Regions from separate parts of the Homo sapiens genome. Here all the other regions are linked to region 2. Evidence: promoter capture Hi-C in 16 types of primary human blood cells and fetal thymus (Javierre and others, 2016). All regions are on one chromosome and are shown on one strand. The core of a region is centred on a gene start or on the middle of the fragment in contact, and the rest is flanking DNA. Distances in the headings are between cores, read along the strand shown.

Region 1 (3,270 bases), core at 107-2,606, 340 kb before region 2:
AGGCAACAGAGCAAGACGCCGTCTCAAAGAAAAAAAAGATTTACATGGGTCCCGTTCCACCTCCTTTGCATGGGAAGGTTGGGGGAGCAGCACTGTAGGATTTCCTGGGCAACCAATGCCCAGGAGGCCAGCCTAAACCATGTCCCCTGCTTTTTGGGGCACTGGCTAGGTTCTGAATGTTGGTGTCTCCCCTAAATTTATATGTTGGAAACCTCATTCCCAAGATGATGGCATTAGGAGGTGGGACCTTTGGGAGGTGACTAGGTCATGAGTGCAGAGCCCTCAAAATTGGGATTAGTGCCCTCAGAAAAGAGGCCCCAGAGAGCTGCCTTTCCCCTGTGAGGACACGGGAACCAGAACTCTGGCCCTCGCCAAACACCTAATCTATTGACACCTTGATCTTGGACCTCCCAGTCTCCAGAACTGTGAGAAACACGTTCTATTGTTTATAAGCCACTCAGTTTATGGTATTTTGCTATAGCAGTTTGAAGGGACTAAGCCAGGACTCCAGCTTTCCTTTCTGGCCTCTGCTGGGAAACAGCTCCTGCTCTGTGGTCACAGTCTTGTGGGCTCCCCGTTCCCTGAGCTCTGAGTGGGCTCAACAAAGTGAAATGTGGAAGAGGAAAAAGAGATCTGGGGCTTGACCAGACTTGTGTGTCCCAGGACATCTGCAGTGACTGCCTTCAGAAAACCTTCCAGGAAGAACGTCAGTCATGCCTTCCGGGAGCTCAGGTCTGAGGCATCTGGTTGTACCACAGCCCTGATGGCAGGGGACTTCAGACTGCTCATGCCGGCCTGGCACTTCCTGATTCGACTTCAGCAAGGCAGGCAATGTTCTAGAACCTGACCTCCGATTTAAACTGAGTTTCTCCTTCCCTTGAGCAAGGAGGACAGTGAATCAGAAGGACGTAGATCCCCTCACTGTATCACTGTGTGTGTATCTACTCACTGTGCGTGCGTGTTCTCACGGCCCCATTGCATTATTTAAAGGGACACTAGTTTATTCGGATGGAGAGCTCAGTCCACCCCACGTCAAGCTTATGAAGCCCATTTCCTGGCCCCCTTCTAGGAATGTCGGGAGGAGGGTGTCGCGTGGGCTTTGAAGTAGGACAGACCTGGGTTTGGGTTTCTGTTCTGCCACTTGTCCTTGGTGACTGAGCCTCAGTCTACTTGGTTGGGAAATAGGACGGTCGGGAGTGAACCCGCCCAGGGTGGGCTTCCAGTCACCCGCACATATGCGGGGCACTGGCCGCCCATCCCTGCCAGGCCCCGAGGATGCCCGCGCTCGTCCTCGGCGTCGCGGGTTGGGCGCGCTCCCGGGCGCATTCCCGGCCGGGCAGCCCCTCCTCCCTCGTCCTTAGCCCAGGGGCCGGCGCCTCCCCGCCTCGCGCGGACTGTCTCGTGCGGGCAGCTGCGGGCGCACCTGGACCCTCGCAAGGCCCGGGCGGCGCCGATCCCCGCGGGACGCGCTGCGCTCGGGGCCTCCCGCCTCCCCCCCTGCCCCAGCCGCCCCCCGGCCGCGCGGCGCCCCGCACCCTGCAGGGACGGCTGCCGCATCGCTGGGACAAACTCGGCAGCGGAGGCAAAGTTATTTCCCCTCCCAGGCAGCGGGATTCCGACTGGCAAGATGGTGCCCAGCTCTCCGCGCGCGCTCTTCCTTCTGCTCCTGATCCTCGCCTGCCCCGAGCCGCGGGCTTCCCAGGTCAGTGTCCCTCCCGCCTCTCTCCAGGCCAGTGTCCCTCCCGCCTCTCTCCAGGCCAGTGTCCCTCCCGCCTCTCTCCAGGCCAGCGTCCCTCCCGCCTCTCTCCCCTGTCCCTCCCGCCTCTCTCCCCTGTCCCTCCCGCCTCTCTCCAGGTCAGTGTCCCTCCCGCCTCTGTCCCCTGTCCCGCGCGCCTCTCTCCACGCCAGTGTCCCTCCCGCCTCTCTCCAGGCCAGCGTCCCTCCCGCCTCTCTCCAGGCCAGCGTCCCTCCCGCCTCTCTCCAGGTCAGCGTCCCTCCCGCCTCTCTCCAGGCCAGCGTCCCTCCCGCCTCTCTCCAGGTCAGCGTCCCTCCCGCCTCTCTCCAGGCCAGTGTCCCTCCCGCCTCTCTCCAGGCCAGCCAGTGTCCCTCCCGCCTCTCTCCACGCCAGTGTCCCTCCCGCCTCTCTCCAGGCCAGTGTCCCTCCCGCCTCTCTCCAGGCCAGTGTCCTTCACGCCTCTCTCCAGGTCAGTGTCCCTCCCGCCTCTCTCCAGGCCAGCGTCCCTCCCGCCTCTCTCCAGGTCAGCGTCCCTCCCGCCTCTCTCCAGGCCAGCGTCCCTCCCGCCTCTCTCCACGCCAGTGTCCCTCCCGCCTCTCTCCAGGTCAGTGTCCCTCCCGCCTCTCTCCAGGCCAGTGTCCCTCCCGCCTCTCTCCAGGCCAGTGTCCCTCACGCCTCTCTCCAGGTCAGTGTCCCTCCCGCCTCTCTCCAGGCTAGTGTCCCTCCCGCCTCTCTCCAGGCCAGCGTCCCTCCCGCCTCTCTCCAGGTCAGCGTCCCTCCCGCCTCTCTCCAGGCCAGCGTCCCTCCCGCCTCTCTCCACGCCAGTGTCCCTCCCGCCTCTCTCCAGGCTAGTGTCCCTCCCGCCTCTCTCCAGGCCAGCGTCCCTCCCGCCTCTCTCCAGGTCAGCGTCCCTCCCGCCTCTCTCCAGGCCAGCGTCCCTCCCGCCTCTCTCCACGCCAGTGTCCCTCCCGCCTCTCTCCAGGTCAGTGTCCCTCCCGCCTCTCTCCACGCCAGTGTCCCTCCCGCCTCTCTCCAGGCCAGTGTCCCTCCCGCCTCTCTCCAGGCCAGTGTCCCTCCCGCCTCTCTCCACGCCAGTGTCCCTCCCGCCTCTCTCCAGGCCAGTGTCCCTCCCGCCTCTCTCCCCTGTCCCGCGCGCCTCTCTCCATGCCAGTGTCCCTCCCGCCTCTCTCCACGCCAGTGTCCCTCCCGCCTCTCTCCAGGCCAGCGTCCCTCCCGCCTCTCTCCAGGTCAGCGTCCCTCCCGCCTCTCTCCAGGCCAGCGTCCCTCCCGCCTCTCTCCACGCCAGCGTCCCTCCCGCCTCTCTCCACGCCAGCGTCCCTCCCGCCTCTCTCCACGCCAGTGTCCCTCCCGCCTCTCTCCACGCCAGTGTCCCTCCCGCCTCTCTCCAGGCCAGCGTCCCTCCCGCCTCTCTCCAGGCCAGTGTCCCTCCCGCCTCTCTCCCCTGTCCCGCGCGCCTCTCTCCACGCCAGTGTCCCTCCCGCCTCTCTCCAGGTCAGTGTCCCTCCCGCCTCTCT
Region 2 (3,305 bases), core at 668-3,167:
GCAGGAGAATCTCTTGAAACCCGGAGGTGGAAGTTGCCGTGAGCTGAGATCACGCCATTGCACTCCAGCCTGGGCGACAGTGCAAGACTCCCTAACAGACACACACACACACACACACACACACACACACACACGTTCCAAGGAGGAAAGATGAGTTACCTTACAAAGAAAAGGGAATAAGCTGGGTGTGGTGGCTCACGCCTGTAATCCCAACAGTTTGGGAGGCTGAGGTGGGAGGATGGCTTGAGTTGAGGAGTTCGAGACCAGCCTGGGCAATATGGTGAGACCCTGTCTCAAAAAAAAGTGGGGTGGGGAATAAGTAGTACCGTACAGAACCTACAGCTAAAAGAAACAAAAATGGTGCTCGCTACAAAAAGTGAGAAAAAGGAAAAAGGTAGCTTCTGGATTTGGAAATTCAAAGGTCACTGGTGTTCCTAATGAGATCCACGGTTGTGGAGTGGCAGAGAGAAGCCACCTGTGGCACAGGAGTCGTCAGTAGGAGTCGCAGGAGGAATTGATGCAGCATGGTGGGAGTGGACGTCACTTTCAAGGTGATCAGCCGTGAAGAGCGGCAAACACAGCGTCTTGGCTCGAGTTCCCCCAAACGGTGCCCCCTGGAACAAGAATTTGAGCACGAGTACAGTAGTTTTTTTGGGAGGTGATCCCAGGAAACATCGGTAGTCAGGGAAAGGAAGGAAGCCAACAGAAGATGCCCTGATGAGCAAGTTGCAGCTGTGGACAACCGCAGCCGTGGCCTACAGAGGACCACCGCAATACGCCTAGGACACACGCCTCCCCGCAGGGCACGTGCGGAGGGCGAGAGGGCCAGGGCATTCTCGACCAACTCTATCCCTCGTGGAGGGAGAGCAGCTGGGAAGGAGTGCAAGCACCCAGCACCTCTAAGTCTGCCCCATTTCTGCTCTGAGCGGGCTCTCCACAGCCAGCGGTTGCCTGCAGGTGGAGCCGGTGCGCAAGACAGGCGAGTGAGCGCCTGGCGGCCCCGTGGAATCTGGGCAACGATGGGAAGGAGAAGGGCGCTTTTACAATGTGCTCGGGTAGATACCGTGAGCATCGGGGGACAGGAAGGGGAGAGGCCCCAGGGTGTTCTTTATCTACAGGAGAGTAAAAGATGCAAGGCGCAGGGCTGATGTGGGTAATTTATGAGGGACTGTAGGAAGTTTGGGGGAGCTCTGATGATCATTGCCTTCTCTTTGTATCTCAAATGCAGCAGCACAGTCTTCAGAGTGGGCTATCAGAACCGAAGGGACTTTTAAGAGCCACTCTCCGCCGCTCATAAGGGGAAATCGAGGTCCGGAGAAGGGAAAGCAAGTGGCTGAATGCCGGTAAAAGGCAGGAAAAGAGCGGAGCCCAGGGCTCCAGGGGGTCGGTTTGGGACCTGCTTCCACCAGCAGAGTCTAAGGTCATCCCCTTGGCCGTGCGCCACCCTGGGCTCAGCCGAAGGAAGGAGCACTCGACACAAACAAAACCGACGCTCCGGGTCTCCGTAGTCGTTAAGCAAAGAGGAAGAGGAAGCGCTTCTTCATTAGGCCACAGGACCGGGCCTTAGAACTTTTGGGTTTTATCCATTAAAGGTCCTTTGGCAATAGAAGAAAAACCCAGATCGAGCCCTGCAAACTGGGATCTTCCGCCGGCACCGCCCCCCGGCTGCGACCCGGGGCTCGGAAAGAACCACCCCAGGCCCGGGCTCCGGTTCCACCGCACAGTCCGCCCGCTGCGGTAAAGCCGCGCCCACCGCCGCGGGTCTCCAACCCTGCGCCGCCGCCGCCCCCGGGGGAGGGTACGGAAAGGGCGCGGCGCCGCCGCCCACGGGCTCCTCCAGAGCGCGGCGGGGCCGGGCCGCGCGGAATCACGGGACAGAGGCGGGGCCGCGCCGGCGGGGGCGGGCGTGCGAGCGGCGCTTTCCTCTCCGGCACCCGGCGGGCGCCCGGGCGCGGCGCCGCCGGCACCCGAGAGGCGCGGTAGCCGGCGCGGGCGGCGGGGGCCGGGCCGCGGCGGGCGCCCGGGCGGGGTCCGCGCTGAGCCGCCTTCTCGGCCGCCTGGTCCCTGCGGCGGCTGCCCGGCGGCCCGGGCGCGCGGCGCTTCGCCATGTACACCTTCGTGGTACGCGATGAGAACAGCAGCGTCTACGCCGAGGTCTCCCGGCTGCTCCTCGCCACCGGCCACTGGAAGAGGCTGCGGCGAGACAACCCCAGATTCAACCTGATGCTGGGAGAGAGGAATCGGCTGCCCTTCGGGAGACTGGGTGAGCCCCTCCCCGATTCCCGTCTGCCCTCCTCGGAGCGGCCCTGCGCGCCTCCCGCGGCCCGTTAGAACCGGCGCTTTTGTTTTTAAAGGTCATACATTTTCTCCTCTGTCGCTTGTCGGGCACATCAGAAACGGATTCGGAAAGATCGAAACCTGTCGTTTTTAATGCTTTCTTGTCTCCTAACTTGGATTTAGAGTCGGAGTCGCGGTGCGGCCACTCGGGGCCGCAGCTACCTCCCGACGGTGACCGGTCCCTGCAGCCCGGGAGACGCTGGCCGCCGGGGCTGGGACCTGAGGCGCGAGTCTAGCGGCTCCCCCGGGCCGAAGCCCCCAGATTTGGCGGGTCCGCCGCGCTGGGCGCGGCTCCGCAGAGCGGGCGGCTGGAGTCATCTTTTGCAGCTCGTCTGCACTGAGGATTTCTCCCTGCTTGGCGTGGGCGCGGGCGGGGGAGCCGTAGGTGTTGAAACCCCTGAGGCTTCTGCCCCCCGAAGGCGCGGAGGAGCGATCAGAGGATTTGGAAAAGACCCCCGGATTCCAAAAGCAGGAGCTGCAGAAGAGACCCTAGCCCAGGGAAGTGTGGAGGGATGTCTGATTATAAACCTTTCCTTAGTTTCACCAAATAATGTGTTTTCGCAGTTCTGCATTGGATTAAGATCTTACACGAGGCTGCGTTCGCCCTCCCTGTCTTCCCTGCTCTCCCCGAGGGAATTACCTTCATCCACATGGTTGAAGCTGGCTGGGCACCACCATACCCACATGTCCACGGGTAGGAAAGCGCAGGAGATAGGAGGGGACTAGCGGCTCCTTTGTAAGTGATGTCATCCAGAAGTTGCCCAGATCGGTTCAACTCACATCCTATTGACCTGAGCATAGTCTCATGGCCTCCCTCTCTGCACAGTCATCTGGGAATTGCATCTTCTCTCCGGGGAGCCATGTTCCTTGCCAGAATTCACCAGAGGTGGGGGCCAATTGTATTCCAAAGACAAGGGGAGAATCGATACGGAGGAAGAGTCACCTCTACCTTGGAGGGCAACCCAGAG
Region 3 (3,581 bases), core at 1,042-3,541, 380 kb before region 2:
CTTAATGATAATTTTAGCTAATTTGAAAGTAAAATAATTACGTTTTCATTATTTTAAAGTATAAGAAATTTTTTAAATGTAGATTTTTTATACAATGGCTTTTAGATATAAACTGAAAATTGAACAAGTTTAAACATACTAGTAAAACTACTCCTTGTTTTTGCTATAGATATGCCTTCATGCCCTTAATAGATGATTCTGATGATGAAATTGAGGAATTCATGGTAACTTCTGAAAATTTAAGTGAGTAATATGTTTTCTTTTTAAATGACCATTGTACATATTGCAACAGAAATATTGTACCTTTACCCGTGATGCAAGGTCACATATATTGTTTTTTTCTATAAAATATTTTAAAAACTTTTATCTTCAGAAACCTTATTTTGGTAGACAGTAACAGAAAGGTCAGTGATGAAATTTTCAAGACTATTGTAGTTTGAGCTTGTTACTCATTTCGTAAAATGTTGAAATAGTTACACTGTTTTTCATAAGAATGGTTTGATGTATATTGTGCTTAGCTGCTAAATAATGTTCATCTTGATGATTGCTAAGTTTCTTTGAGTTGCATCTTCTTGCTCTTTTTAAAGTATGCACACCTGTAATTTCTGATCATGCTGAAAGCATTTCTACTTAAAGTTTTAATGATATTTTCATTCTTTCTGTTATTTTCTACATAGCATTTTATCATTTTATTAATTTTATTGTAATCTAATTAAGCATCTGTTAAGGCAACATCAATAAGTAACTCAGATGTTGAGGGTAATTTTATCTTTGTTTCATTTTTTTGTCCTCTTACTTTTGCTTCTCTTAGTAACATTCTTTTTCACCTTCTGTTTTGGTTCTCTAATACATCGATGAAATAGAAAACAGGAAAACAAATAGAAAAAAATCATCAAATCTAAAAGTAATTACTTTGAAAAGCTTAGTGAAAAGTGGCTTAACCTCTAGCTACTCTAAACCAGAAATAAAGAAAAAACTACAGTGGACCCTTGAACAATGTAGGGTTAGGGGCACCAAACTCCTGAGCAGTTGAAAATCTACTTATAACTTTTGACTCTCCCAGAACTTAACTACTGATAGTCAACTGTTGACCAGAAGCCTTACTGTTAACATAGTTATCACATATTTTGTGTATTATATGTATTTTATACTGTATTCTTACAATAAAGTAGGTGGAGCAAAGAAAATGTTATTAGGTAGAAGGAAAGGGGAGGCAGCAAAGGCAGACATATGTGGTGTAACTTTTATTGAAAAAAACTTGCATGTAGGTGGACCTGAGCAGTTCAAACCCATATTATTCAAAAGTCAACTGTAGTACAGTAAGACAAACTTCTAATGTTGGAAATGATAGAGAGGACATTACTATGGTAAAAAAGGTAAATAAGGAAATATTATGAACAATTTTATGGTAACAAATTGGGCAATCTGGATGAGGCAGACAAGTTCATTGAAAAATACAAGTTCATTGAAAAATACATATAACAACCCAATTTTAATTCTAACCCTGTGCCACTAAGTCTGAATAGCTCTGATCTATTAGAAATTTAAAAAAAATTTTTTTAATTTAAAATCTTCCTATGAAGTACCAGGCCCAAATGATTCACTAGTGAGTCCTTTCAAATACTTAAGGAAGAAATGGAAGAAATATTCTAATTTTACACAAAATCTTTAGAAGGTAAAGGAGGTGGGAGTACTTAAAAGGCCAGTACAATTGAAATGCCAAAGTCTAACAGACGTTACAAGAAAAAATTATAGACCAAAAATTATAGACCACTTATAGACCAATATATCATTAATGAGTGGGCATACAAAAATTCTTTAAAAATATTAGCAAATAAAATCTAGCAAAATATAGAAAGACAATCATGATCAAGTGGACTTTATCCCAGGGTTGCAAGGCTGTTTTAACATTCCGAAAATCACTCAGTATAATTCATCATATTAAAATAGTACAAATAAGGCTGGGTGCGGTGGCTCATGCCTGTAATCCCAGCAGTTTGGGAGACTGAGGCAGGCAGATCACCTGAGGTCAGGAGTTCGAGACCAGCCTGGCCAACATGGCAAAACCCCCTCTTGACTAAAAATACAAAAATTAGCCGGGCGTGGTGGTGTGTGCCTGTAATCCCAGCTACTTAGGAGGCAGAGACGGGAGAATTGCATGAACCCAGGAGGCAGAGTTTGCAGTGAGCCAAGCCACTGCACGCCAGCCTGGACAACAGAACAAGACTCTGTCTCAAAAACATAAATAAATAAATAAAAATAAAAATAAAATAGTACAAATAAAAGAAGAAAGAAGAAAAAAATGACAAAAGTATCTCAGTGGGTACAAATAACAAAAGCCTCAGCAAACTAATTCTAAAATGGTATGAAAACACTCCACAGTTAAAATTCTATTTAATGGTGAAATAGTGAACACTTTCTTCTCAAGATTAGGGATAAAGTGCAAGGGTATGTACATACCACTTTGATTCTGCATTGTATGGGAGGTCCTACCTAGTGCAGAGAAGCAAAACAAAACTCCAAAGAATGTGAAAGAAAGAACATGTGGAAAGGAGGAAGTAAAACTGTGTTTATTCGCAGGCAACATGGTTATGTATGGAAAAATCCCAAGGAGTCTAAAGAAAAGAAAAAGTACGGTAGAACTAAGTGACTGTGACAGTCATAGGGTATATGTCCAATGTACAGAAGTCAGTTGTTTTTCTACATATTAACTGAAAACAATTGAAGGTGAAGTTTAAAATGTTATTTACCATACCTTCAAAAATAAAATACTTGGAATAAGTTTAATGAAAAATACGTAAAACCTCTGCAATGAAGACTATAAAACAATGCAGAGATAAATTTTAGAATAAGTAAATGTAGAGATAGAACCTGTGTCTGAATTGGAACTCTCAGTATTAAGCTCTCAGTTTCCCAGTCTGATAAATAGATTCAGTGCAATCCCAATTATAATTCTAGCTGACTTAAAAAAAAATACAGTGGTTAAGTTGATTCTAAAATGTATATGGAAAAGCAAAAGACGTAGAAGATCCTTAACATTCTTGTAGTTACAACATGGATGAACCTTGAAAACATTATGTTAAGTGAAAGAAGCCAATCACAAAAGACCACATACTGTATAATTTTGTTTATATGAAAGGTCCAGAACAGACAAGTCCGTAGAGGCGGAAAGTAGATCAGTGCTTGTCACAGGTTAGAGGAGGGGGAAAGTAAGGACTGACTGCTAATGGGTTTGGGGTTTCTTTGTGGGGTGATGAAAATTTTCCAAAATTGGAGAGTGGTGAATATCTCAAATCTCTGTGAATATCTCAAAATCTAACTGTACTTCAATATGGTATGCGAATTATCTCTCAATAAAATAAAATTAGTGGATTTATACTGATTTCAAGACATAATTATTTCAGATTACAGCAATCCAGACAGTGTGGTATTGGCATAAGGATAGAGAAATCCATCAAGGTAGTAAAATAGAGTCCAGGAATAAACCCATGCATGTGTGGTCAGTTGATTTTTGACAAAGGCACCAAGGCTTACATGAAGAGAGGATAGTCTTTTTAATAAATGGTACTGGAACAACTGGA
Region 4 (3,216 bases), core at 248-2,747, 280 kb before region 2:
TGAATGTGCCCCCAAATGTTCATGTGTTGGAAAATTAATCCCTCTGCCCTCATGAATGAATTAGTGTTAGCTCTGCCCTCATGAATGGATTAATGGGTTAATGAGGCCTGTGTGGTCATAAATGGATTAATGTCACTATCACAGGAGTGGGTTCGTTATTGAGGGAAGGGCTTTATTATAGAAGCGAGCTCTCTCTGGCTCTCCTGCTGTTGCCCTCTCACCATGTAATGCCCTTCACCGTGGTATGATGCAGCAAGAAGGCCTCACAAGATGCCAGTTCCATGCTCTTGAACTTCCCAGCCTCCAGAACCATGAGCTAAACATTTTCTTTATAAGTTACCCAGTCTGTGGTATTCTGTTATAGCAACAGAAAACAGACAAAGACACCCCCCATATGCAACCTCTTTTGCTGCAGCAAATAGTAAACCTGACTTTGTTGACTATATGTGGGTTCCTGGTGGTCTTTGACTGAGAGACATCAACTCCCAACTCAAGCAACCAGTGCTCTCAACTGCAATCCCTGATCCACTGGAGTGTGGTGATCAGCTGTGAAGTGTGTATTAGGTAATTGGTGGCTAGTACTAATTAAGATTCTCAAGCTTGGAAATAACAAAGGAGTATGGCTTGCCCAGGAGGAACTGTGCAGAGCCATGGGGGACACCTCAGATGTTCGTGGGAATGTCACATAAGGGGTGGCATGTATGCAGCTGGCTTATGCATAGGGAATCACTAGCTACATACTTGGCCATTCTCCTTCATTTCTGCCTTTGTCTGGGGAATTCTCGAATTACCTGAGCAGAAGGACACATCACCTCCATCTATGTTGTTTCATGGATAAGGCGTAAATGGTTTTTTTTGTTTGTTTTTTGTTTTATTTTGTTTTTAGACATAGTCTCGCTCTGTCCCCCAGTCTGGAGTGCAGTCGCACAATCTCGGCTCACTGCCACCTCTGCCTCCCAGATTCAAGCTATTCTCCTGCCTCAGCCTCACAAGTGGCTGGGATTACAGGTGCACCACCACCCGGCTAATTTTTGCATTTTTAGTAGAGGTGGGGTTTCGTCATGTTGGCCAGGCTGGTCTCGAACTCCTGAGCTCAGGTGATCCACCTGCTTCAGCCTCCCAAAGTACTGGGATTACAGGCGTTACAGGTGTGAGCCACCACACCCAGCCTAAATGTTTTTTAAAATCCTATTTATTCTCTTTCACTTAAAGGTCACCATTTTTCATATTGTTGGATGGAAAAAAGCAGCACCCATTTAAATGTTTAAATGTCAATGATGAATATTGAGCAAGTGCCTTTTATGTGCTTGATCCTTGCAGAGAATACAGCTTTGGATGGGGCAGGTACACTAAATGCCCTTCCACAGCTTCCAGAATGTCAGGGAGGACAATTTGAGACAAGGAGTGTGAGGGTTGCTGAGATCAAAGGAGGGTGGAAAGCGAGATGTACCCTTGCCTGGTTCACTAAGGCTGCCTCTGACAACAGAGGAAATGTGAGTGAGGCCTCTGAGGCAGGAGGCAGGGCCCAGTGACTGCTGTCCTGAATCTCTTTACAAATCCTGTGATTTGACCTGGAGAGTTCTGAACAACAGACACTTGCTCATTCATGGGTGGGCCCGGAAGGCCTGTTTCACGGACCATCGTGCAGCTCCCACACCACAGCCTTGTCACAGGTCCTTGCCAAGATTTAACAGAACAAAGGCCGTGGGCCCCAGCAGTGTCTTCCCAGGTGAAGATCTCTCAGGTCTCGCATTTGTTCCAGGGTACCCTGTTCCCTGCCTTGCCGTTCCAGCTCCTTGGCAGAAGGCCTGCACATCTTATTTGAAAAGTCAAGGGCATTTTTCCCTTCTTTTTTTTTCCTCCCCTGGTTCAGATGTAGGTGTAGGACACATCCCAAAGAACACAGCCCTCCAGAACTGCAGGCAGTCCAGAGTGGCAGGAGCCAGGGGAGGTTGGGCAGGTTTCTGTTTCCTGAGGGGCCACTCACATCATCTCCCCAACTTAGGGAGAACATAGAATCCTTCACAGCTACACAAGGACAGGCATTCAGTCTCTGAGATAATAAGGAATTCACAGCAACCAGGCTTTCCTCCTTCATGGACTGAAATGACTGTTTTATGTGCATTTGGCTGAAATAAGGAGCATTTCTGTTGATTCCAGGTTTACCTAACTGAGTTCAGCTACATGAGGAAGTTTAAATTGGCTTACAGTCTGTGGGCATATGGAAGGCTGAAAAGAGCTGGTGTGTCAGCAGATATGAGGCTGAATCACAAATTCATTCAGGAAGTCCAAGATTAAAGTCTAGTTTATATTATTATGTAACAAATATACCTGCCAAGCAACACATCCAGGCAAATAAATTTGGAGTATTTTTATGTAGGATACAGCTGGGATACAAAGCTTGTATATATTTAAGACTTATGGGAATGGTAAATAAGACTACTTCTGTGGAATCTCTTAAAAAGGTAGTTTAAAAATTTGGAGCATGGAGTAAAGGTCCCAAATTCTTATGAACTAGGAGCTTCCTGCTAACAGTCATGTGCACTTTATCTGTTAATTGTTTACTGTCTCATTCCTCTGAGTGCAATTGCGTTCCCCAGGAAGATGAGTCTCTGGACATGCCAGGCAAGGAAAGGTGATTTTGAAATAAAAGTACTAGAAGACGACATGTTCAATTTTCATACCAGTCATAAATACGTATATAGTTCTATTTATATATACACTTCTATTTATATATTACATATATAGATATGAAATATATTTAGAAATATATATATTTTTAAGTGCAGGGTTTTTTTAAAAGGTATTGTGATGTCAAACCACACTTAAAAGTGAGTTAAGGTTTCTACCTCTGGAACAGCAGAGTAAAAATCTTCAAAAATCCACTCCTCTATGAAAGACATAAAAACACTGCCAAAACAGTCAAAAATCAACTTTTTCAGAATCTGGAAATTAACTGAAGGCTAGCAACAATTTGAAGAGAATTTATTCAAGCAAAACAGCTGAATCTTGGTGAAATGCCTGTGGCATTTTAACTTCTCTAATGTCATTCTCCTCTCCCCAGCTCCACAGTATGAGCCTTGAAGACTGAAAGCCCTGCAACCTTAACAGCTATGAAAACTAGTACCTACTAGTCACTGGAGTGAGTAGAACAAGTTGGGAGCTTCTCAAAAACTCCACCCCCCACTAAAATTCACTATTTGATCTCACAGCTTA
Region 5 (3,452 bases), core at 177-2,676, 400 kb before region 2:
TGCTGAATAGAAAGGTGAAATCTGATGATCTTGAACTTAGGTTTGGAGTACAAATTGCAAAAATACCAATGGAAAAGTTTTAAAAAGAATTTAAAAATTGAAGCTGATGAAAAGCAAACTCAACATAGGCAATAATAGGGTAGTTGCCTCCCACAAGCTCCCACAACCTCAGATTGCAGCAGGAGCCTGGAAGGAAAGTTGAGAATCTTGCTGTACAGGCCACACTGTACCAGAAACGTTGTAGTCACATTACCTCAAGAGGAGTATAGACAGCCCATGGAGGGATTGACAGCACACTCATCCCTCAACATTTGTGATGATAAACCCCTTCTTTACATTCTGCACTCTTTCGGAGAGCTCATCCATTGTTTTCCTCCTAAAGCTTTCTCTCCTGTGGAACTCTCTATCCTGAGCTACAGACATATATATCCAGTCACCTACAAAACAGCTTCTCAATGCCTTGCAATCTTCTCAACCTCTGAATGGCAAAAAGGGAGCTCATCCTTTCTGCCTTTGTGTGGCGGTCTCGCCCCAGCCCACACTTGCTGCCCTTCCAGGTGTTCCTCTCGCTGCATGATACTGCCAGGAGACCTCAGGACCATCTTTCACATCTTTCTTGGCTTCTTGCTCTGCCTGTAGTTCTAGATCTATCTTCGAGGCATTTGACAAGGTCTCTTGTGAGTTCTTGCAGGCAAGATGGAGCTGAAAACAGTGTGAACTGAAAACATCAGATGGATTCACAACTGGTTTTGCCACCATATTTTCTGAATATCTTTCTGAATCTTTCTGCTTCTCTCTGTGATCACTGCCGGTACTCTCATCATCTCTTAGTTTTCTGGAATAGTCTCCTGAGCATTTTCCTTGCCTGCAGTTTTGTTCCTCTCCAAACCATTGTAGGTAGAGCAATCTTGATAAAATAAAGCCATCCATTTTATTCCAGCAGTCAGCACATTTTTTCTGTCAAGGCCATAGAGGAAATATTTTGGCTTTGCAGGCCATATGGTCTCTGTTGTAACTATTCACCCTTGCCATCAAAGCATAAAAGCAGCCATAGACAACATGCAAACAAATGAGCATTGCTGTGTTCCCATAAAACTTTATGTTCAAAAACAGATCAGATGTAGGGCCAGATTTGGCCCATGGGCCATAGTTTACCAATCCCTCCTTTGTTCTTTTGTTTATTGTTATTGACTTCCCACTGCCCTTAACATCGAGTCCAGACTCCATGACAGGGGCTCCAAACTGCATGATTGGTCCCTGCCTTTATGACCAGCCTCTTTTCTTGACATCTACCATTACACTCTCTGCTGCAGGCATAATGAACTTTGACTTCTTGCAGCATAGTTTGCTTTTCCTCTTTTCTTCTCTGTGCCTTTGCACGTGCCGTGTTCTTTGCTTTGTCATCCCCCACCCCCAAATACTTAACTCCTACTTAGCCTTCAAGTCCTGATTTAGATGTCACTTTTTCTGAGTTTTTCAGGACCCAATTCTAGTTCCCCCAGGTGTAGATTAGACTGGCCTTCTTCCAAGTCTGGAGGGATGATGTGTTACCTCTTGCTCTTACCACACTGAGTTCTATTTACTTAGCCTAACCAGAGTACAAGCTCCATGAAGGCAGGGATCAAGATGTCTTTTTCACTATTATAGCCACACAGTAGGAGCATATCAGATACATTTTAAATGAATACATGATGAGGAGATCCTGGAGAAAAGAGAACTCTAGAGGATGTTGTGGTTTTTAAATATTTACAGGACAAGAAGAGAGAGTTCTGTAAAGAGCAAGAACAGAGGGAAGCTCAGGGAGACAGTGTTCGGGCTGATAGAAGAAAGCTGTGCCCAGTGGAGCAGATTAGATAGATAGGGAGTGAATTCTTGAGGCGAGTATGAATCCTTCACTGAAGTTTTCAAGCATCAGTTGGATTCAGTGACTTTTAAATCAAATGTGGCTGATTGGTCTGAAGTTCGAATGTAGTTATACACAGGACATGTTGTTGAGAATCTTGGTTGGCAGGCTTCCAGGTGTAGACAAAGTGAATTATTTTATTTTTTTCTTCCTCAGCCCAAGGCTTATTGATATTTGCGGAGTTGATTTCTGCGATTAAGAGGACGTTGGCTCGCCTTCTCGTGATCATTGTGAGCCTGGGCTATGGCATTGTGAAGTAAGTACTGGCGTGTGGGAAAAATGCTGGGTCCCAGCCCAGTGATTCAGTCCGTCTACATTATGACCTTTGTGAAAATGGAACTTCTAAGTATTGTAGTACAAATCCCTTTGGGAAAAATCTACAAGAACACATTTTTAAAAGATTTCCACATACTTGCTATTTTATGTTATCTTCCAATAAAGACCCTGAATTTTTATTTCAATAACTTTATATAGTTAGATGAATAAATAATCAACTTTAAGGATAATGGAAAATCTAAAATAATTCAAACCATTTTCAAACCCTTTTCTGTTATTTAGACAGTATCATTAAGCTTTTATGGTCCTATCTGAGTGTTGGAAGAGAGAGTGGATTAAACACCAAGTCAGCAAAACTTCTGACTGAAACCTGTCTGTCCCTCAAGGACTCTGCTTCTGGACCTTCTCCGGCGGGTCTTTTCCTCCTCTCACCTGTGAATCACTGGGCATAACTATGGGAGAACTTGATTTCTATCCTTGTTGTGTTTTTTCAGACCTTTCTTCCTGCTTCTTTCCTAAAACCCTGATTCCCAGAAGCTCACTCTTCAGGCTGGGTCACCTGCTGCATCTTGTTGTGGTCACTGTGAGCTTCCAGACCCTCCCTCATTCCTCAGCTCTGTGGGCACTGGCTTCACAGGTGTCGTCCTCAGCATTTCATCTGTCAGAAGGCCATGGGGTCTCAGGAGCCATGTGCATGACCCTTTAAGTAACCTGACCTCACCTCCCCACCTCTCCTGCTCTTGCCCATCACCATGTTTCAGCTACTGATTCCCAGTATCATTTTCTAGACTTTATTATATATATAACTGCACCCTCTTCAAAATCTCAATTTTAAGCAATCCACTTTTCAACTGTCAACCTCCTCTGTTTCCTGTTACTTTCTTTAACATGTCGGTGTCAGTCTTTTTCGACTATACTTTGGCCTCCAGCCTTTTGACCCTGGCACCTTCCGTTGTCCCTCCCCATCTTATATCCTTACCTTCTTCCTTTTGCTTGGATTCCCTGGTCCAGCAGGACATTGACACCCAAAGACCCCTGCCTTTCTCTTTGTCAACCTTCTTGACAAAACCCCAGCCTTGCTAAGTCCAGCTTTCCTTCTGCCTCAGGCTCCCACCCGAGCAGGGGAATTTGCCCAAAAAGAGCCCTGGACCACACTGAGGGGGCCTACTTGCCATTCATGACCCTAAACTTCACGTGCACCCTCAGTGCTGCTGGCAGTTGTACTCAATCCCCTTGCCACTATTTTCTCACTCTCCTGTCTGCAGAAGACCAT
Region 6 (3,651 bases), core at 675-3,174, 360 kb before region 2:
ATATTAAAGTAGAAATAAAATTAGAGACAAACAATATCATAGTTAAGTGAATTATGGTTTAACCAGCTACTTTATGAGATATTGTATAGCCATTAAATTATGAAGAATTTATAATAAAAATACTTATAAGAACTGTGATGCAGTGGCACATATGTGAATGCTTATCTATGTAAAAATAAGGTAGAGCAACTTACTCTCATGGTTCAGAAAAAATGCATTCTATCTTCCAACTTTTCTGTAAAGTTACAGAATTAAGTAATTACATAATTCTTAATTACATAAATAATTACATAATTAATTATTATTTTGAAATAAAGATAATTTAAAAAAAAAAAGGCCGGGCGTAGTGGCTCACGCCTGTAATCCCAGCACTTTGGGAGGCCAAGGTGGGTGGATCACAAGGTCAGGAGATCGAGACCATCCTGGCCAACATGGTGAAACCCTGTCTCTACTAAAAAAAAAATACAAAAAATTAGCCGGGCGTGGTGGCGGGCGCCTGTAGTCCCAGCTACTCGGGAGGCTGAGGCAGGAGAATGGCGTGAACCCGGGAGGCAGAGCTTGCAGTGAGCTGAGATTGGGCCACTGCACTCCAGCCTGGGCGACAGAGCGAGACTCCGTCTCAAAAAAAAAAAAAAAAAAAAAGTAGAGAAAGGATTGAGTGGAAAAGCACTGGGGTGGCATACATGGTTAGTGTTGAGGCTCAGCCAGGCTGTGGTCACAACTTGATTTTAGCCTTTCAGAAACTTAAGACAAAAAGTTTATTTCTTGCTCATGTGACAATTCTTCAGTAGGTATAGAGGTGGGAAGGGCCACCCTCCTCCACATGTCCCTCAGACACCCGGGGTTTATTTCCATCTTGCGGACCCACCATACCCTAGGGCCTAATTTTTACCCCTAATTTTCTAAGAAACATATTCAACATAAATATGTAAAAATAATAGTGCCTTGGCCAGGCGCAGTGGCTCACACCTGTAATCCCAGCACTTTGGGAGGCCGAGATGGGTGGGTCACGAGGTCAGGAGATCGATACCATTCTGGCTAACACAGTGAAACCGCATCTCTACTAAAGATAGAAAAAAATTAGCTGGGCATGGTGGCAGGCACCTGTAGTCCCAGCTACTCGGGAGGCTAAGGCAGGAGAATGGCGTGAATCTGGGAGGCGGAGCTTGCAGTGAGCCGAGATTGTGCCACTGCACTCCAGCCTGGGCGACAGAGCGAGACTCTCAATAATAATAATAATAATAATAATAATAATAATAATAATAGTGCCTTAGACTATGTATCAGAAAATCTAGAAAAGTGTGTCTTGGTTCACAGCTTAATCTTAATTAATTTAAAAAATCCATCTTGCTGTAAGTAGATGGGACATGGAGAATTTTCTTCATGGACATTCTCCCACCTTTGACATGTGAGGAGTGAGAGGGACAAGATGGATAGTCCCAGAGGGAAAGGAAGGGCTGTTGTCATAAGACTGATGACCATTTTGGCAGACTTGGGAGCACTTGCAGAGTGCCAGGCTTTGGTAACCACTGTATTCTCACAGTAGCCAATGAAGTATTAGTTCCCTTGGTTCATAGATTAGAAAACTGAGAGAGAGGTTAAATAATTTGATAGTTTACCATCCTGGCAGGTGGCAAGGCTGGTATAATACTGGTGGGAATCATCCTAGAAGGGTTGTCCTCGAAGTCCTGAGGAGAGAGGAGTTTCGGTTAACAAAGTGCTGTTTGCTTGTTAGAGAAGGTTAAGTAAGACAATGTATCTAAAGTGCCTGGTGCATAGCCTTCAGGAGGCAGCTAAGGTTAATGTGAAAGGTACAGCAATGATTGAGGGGTGACTGAGACTCAATTGAAACAAATGGCATATGAAATTCAAACACATTCCAGGATTGATTCACTTGTATTAAGATGAAGTTACCCAGAGCAAGTTTTATGCCCCTTAAGTGATAGGGAATGTACAGCTACATTAACAGAGGTGACCTGATATTTACATCTGGTCAGAGGCTGACCTGATTTATATCTGATTTCAGATGTAAATAATTTTGACAGTATTTCCTTAAAATCATTTTGAAAAAACAAGAAGCTGCAATGGAAGTTTATGCACAGGAAAAAATGTGAAAGCTATCCAGCAGGTGGTGCCAAAGTAATGTCTCTTGAAGAGTTCTAATCTTTTTTTCTTTTCTCTAATTCTTCCCTTTACAGATTTTATAAATTTACTTACCAAATGCCACTAAACAAATTTGGGGATGAAGAAAAAAACTTAAAAATAATTCACACAGCACTGCCCTGGAAAAACAGTTATTTTGGTATATTTTAAAACTTTAAAGCTGGAAAGAGCCTCTAAGATCATCTTACAAATGAGGAAATGGAGGACCAGGAAAGTGTCACTGGCTACAGTTCCCTCAGACCAGGGTTGAAGACTGCCTCCTAGTTTGTTTTTCTCACCTCTGGTCCTTATTGTCAGGGGGAAAGAGATGCCACAGAAGGGTTGGACTGGGCATCAAAACTTGAAATACATTTTATATACTTTGGTGACCACTTGCTACGTCATTTCATATGACTTCATTGTCTTTTCAGCTTCCAAATTCTTGTTTCTACATGGTCATAATTCCAGTTCTCTGTTTCTTCATTTGATAAGTGGAGATTTTCTTGGGGTTCAGTGGAGTCTGCTGGAAAGGCTTGTCTTTATTTGACCTGAGTCACAGCTTTCCCAGTGCTAAATGCCTCTTTCCAGGGGATACTTATTAAAAATATTCACAGGCATGTTTTTTAATGTCACAGCTGCCTAAAGCAAAAAATAACATTCAAAGCAAACAACAGACTGACCAAAAACCTTAAAAGGAAAGTCTAAAGAATGAGATGACCATAAGGCCTTTGAAAAACCTTCAACATACTTACAGGAATCTAAAAGGTCACATGCATGCATAGGGCTCTGCATGCTCAGCAAAGACCACAAACAAGAAGTGAAGGCTAAGGCAGAGTTAGTTGTAAACTGCCTGAATGAGTGCTGAAGGTGTGCCCCACCATACACACAAGCACCTCGGCAAAGACTGGGAGATTTACTGGTTCCGAGAGGTTAAGAAAGTCTCTGTCCAATAATTGTCTAACCATTACATAACTGAGTAGAGACTTCAGTGACCACATATCACAAAATATACAGACTTTACGGAATTAGTTTAGAGAACTCACTAAACAACTACTACAACAAGTAGTAACAACAGCAAACCATTGAAGGGGAAGGAACTGGTTTTCAGAGTTACCACATTATATTATTTAAAATGTCTAGTATTTACCAAAAAATTATGACATAAGCAAAGAAATGACAGTGTATCTCTCACAAGAAAAAAAAGAGCATCAAAACAAAATGTTCCTGAGAAAGACCAGATGTTTGACTTACTAGACAAAAACTGTAAGCTGTTTTGTAAGTATTCAATGAGCTAAAAAAGTATAAATGCAAAAGTATGAGAATGATGTTTGACCAAATAATGTCAATAGAGATAGCAATGATAAAAATGAACCAAATGAAAATTCTTATATTGAAAAGTACAATAACTGAGACAAAACATTTATTAGAGGGTGCTCAAGAGCAGATCTGAGCAGGTAGAAGAAAATCAGTGAATCTGAATATAGGTCAATTGAGATTATTCAGTGTGAG

What was found. The method cuts DNA at HindIII sites, captures the fragments that hold promoters and counts their contacts. A CHiCAGO score of 5 or more calls a contact.
Region 1: a contact is called between the fragment with the promoter of FBLN7 here and the fragment with the promoter of TTL in region 2, in 8 of 17 cell types (endothelial precursors, activated CD4 T cells, erythroblasts and 5 more). The highest score is 7.3, in endothelial precursors.
Region 3: a fragment that was not itself captured here is called in contact with the fragment with the promoter of TTL in region 2 in 7 of 17 cell types (megakaryocytes, endothelial precursors, M0 macrophages and 4 more); the score reaches 7.3 in megakaryocytes.
Region 4: a fragment that was not itself captured here is called in contact with the fragment with the promoter of TTL in region 2 in 1 of 17 cell types (endothelial precursors); the score reaches 6.5 in endothelial precursors.
Region 5: a fragment that was not itself captured here is called in contact with the fragment with the promoter of TTL in region 2 in 7 of 17 cell types (endothelial precursors, erythroblasts, M1 macrophages and 4 more); the score reaches 7.8 in endothelial precursors.
Region 6: a fragment that was not itself captured here is called in contact with the fragment with the promoter of TTL in region 2 in 6 of 17 cell types (erythroblasts, naive CD4 T cells, total B cells and 3 more); the score reaches 9.3 in erythroblasts.

What each region holds. Positions count from the first base shown.
Region 1 is chr2:112,137,029-112,140,298 of GRCh38, forward strand. It overlaps FBLN7 (fibulin 7), which reads left to right and starts at 1,357. Exons shown (of 8, transcript NM_153214.3): 1 at 1,357-1,702. The coding sequence starts at 1,628. RefSeq lists an enhancer at 3,174-3,270. The HindIII fragment of the contact is 8,502 bases long and covers 1,036-3,270 here.
Region 2 is chr2:112,480,239-112,483,543 of GRCh38, forward strand. TTL (tubulin tyrosine ligase) reads left to right here and starts at 1,918. Exons shown (of 7, transcript NM_153712.5): 1 at 1,918-2,263. The coding sequence starts at 2,107. RefSeq lists an enhancer at 1,249-1,318 and silencers at 1,639-2,028, 2,589-2,688. The HindIII fragment of the contact is 5,056 bases long and covers 1-3,305 here.
Region 3 is chr2:112,100,453-112,104,033 of GRCh38, forward strand. It overlaps TMEM87B (transmembrane protein 87B), which reads left to right. Exons shown (of 19, transcript NM_032824.3): 15 at 170-243. Among named protein-coding and RNA genes, the nearest start is that of FBLN7, 36 kb to the right of the region's middle. The HindIII fragment of the contact is 2,744 bases long and covers 920-3,581 here.
Region 4 is chr2:112,199,670-112,202,885 of GRCh38, forward strand. It overlaps a transcript of FBLN7 not described here. Among named protein-coding and RNA genes, the nearest start is that of ZC3H8, 54 kb to the right of the region's middle. The HindIII fragment of the contact is 1,801 bases long and covers 598-2,398 here.
Region 5 is chr2:112,083,946-112,087,397 of GRCh38, forward strand. It overlaps TMEM87B (transmembrane protein 87B), which reads left to right. Exons shown (of 19, transcript NM_032824.3): 9 at 2,060-2,159. Among named protein-coding and RNA genes, the nearest start is that of TMEM87B, 30 kb to the left of the region's middle. RefSeq lists an enhancer at 3,426-3,452. The HindIII fragment of the contact is 2,093 bases long and covers 381-2,473 here.
Region 6 is chr2:112,119,734-112,123,384 of GRCh38, forward strand. No RefSeq gene overlaps it. Among named protein-coding and RNA genes, the nearest start is that of FBLN7, 17 kb to the right of the region's middle. The HindIII fragment of the contact is 9,145 bases long and covers 1-3,651 here.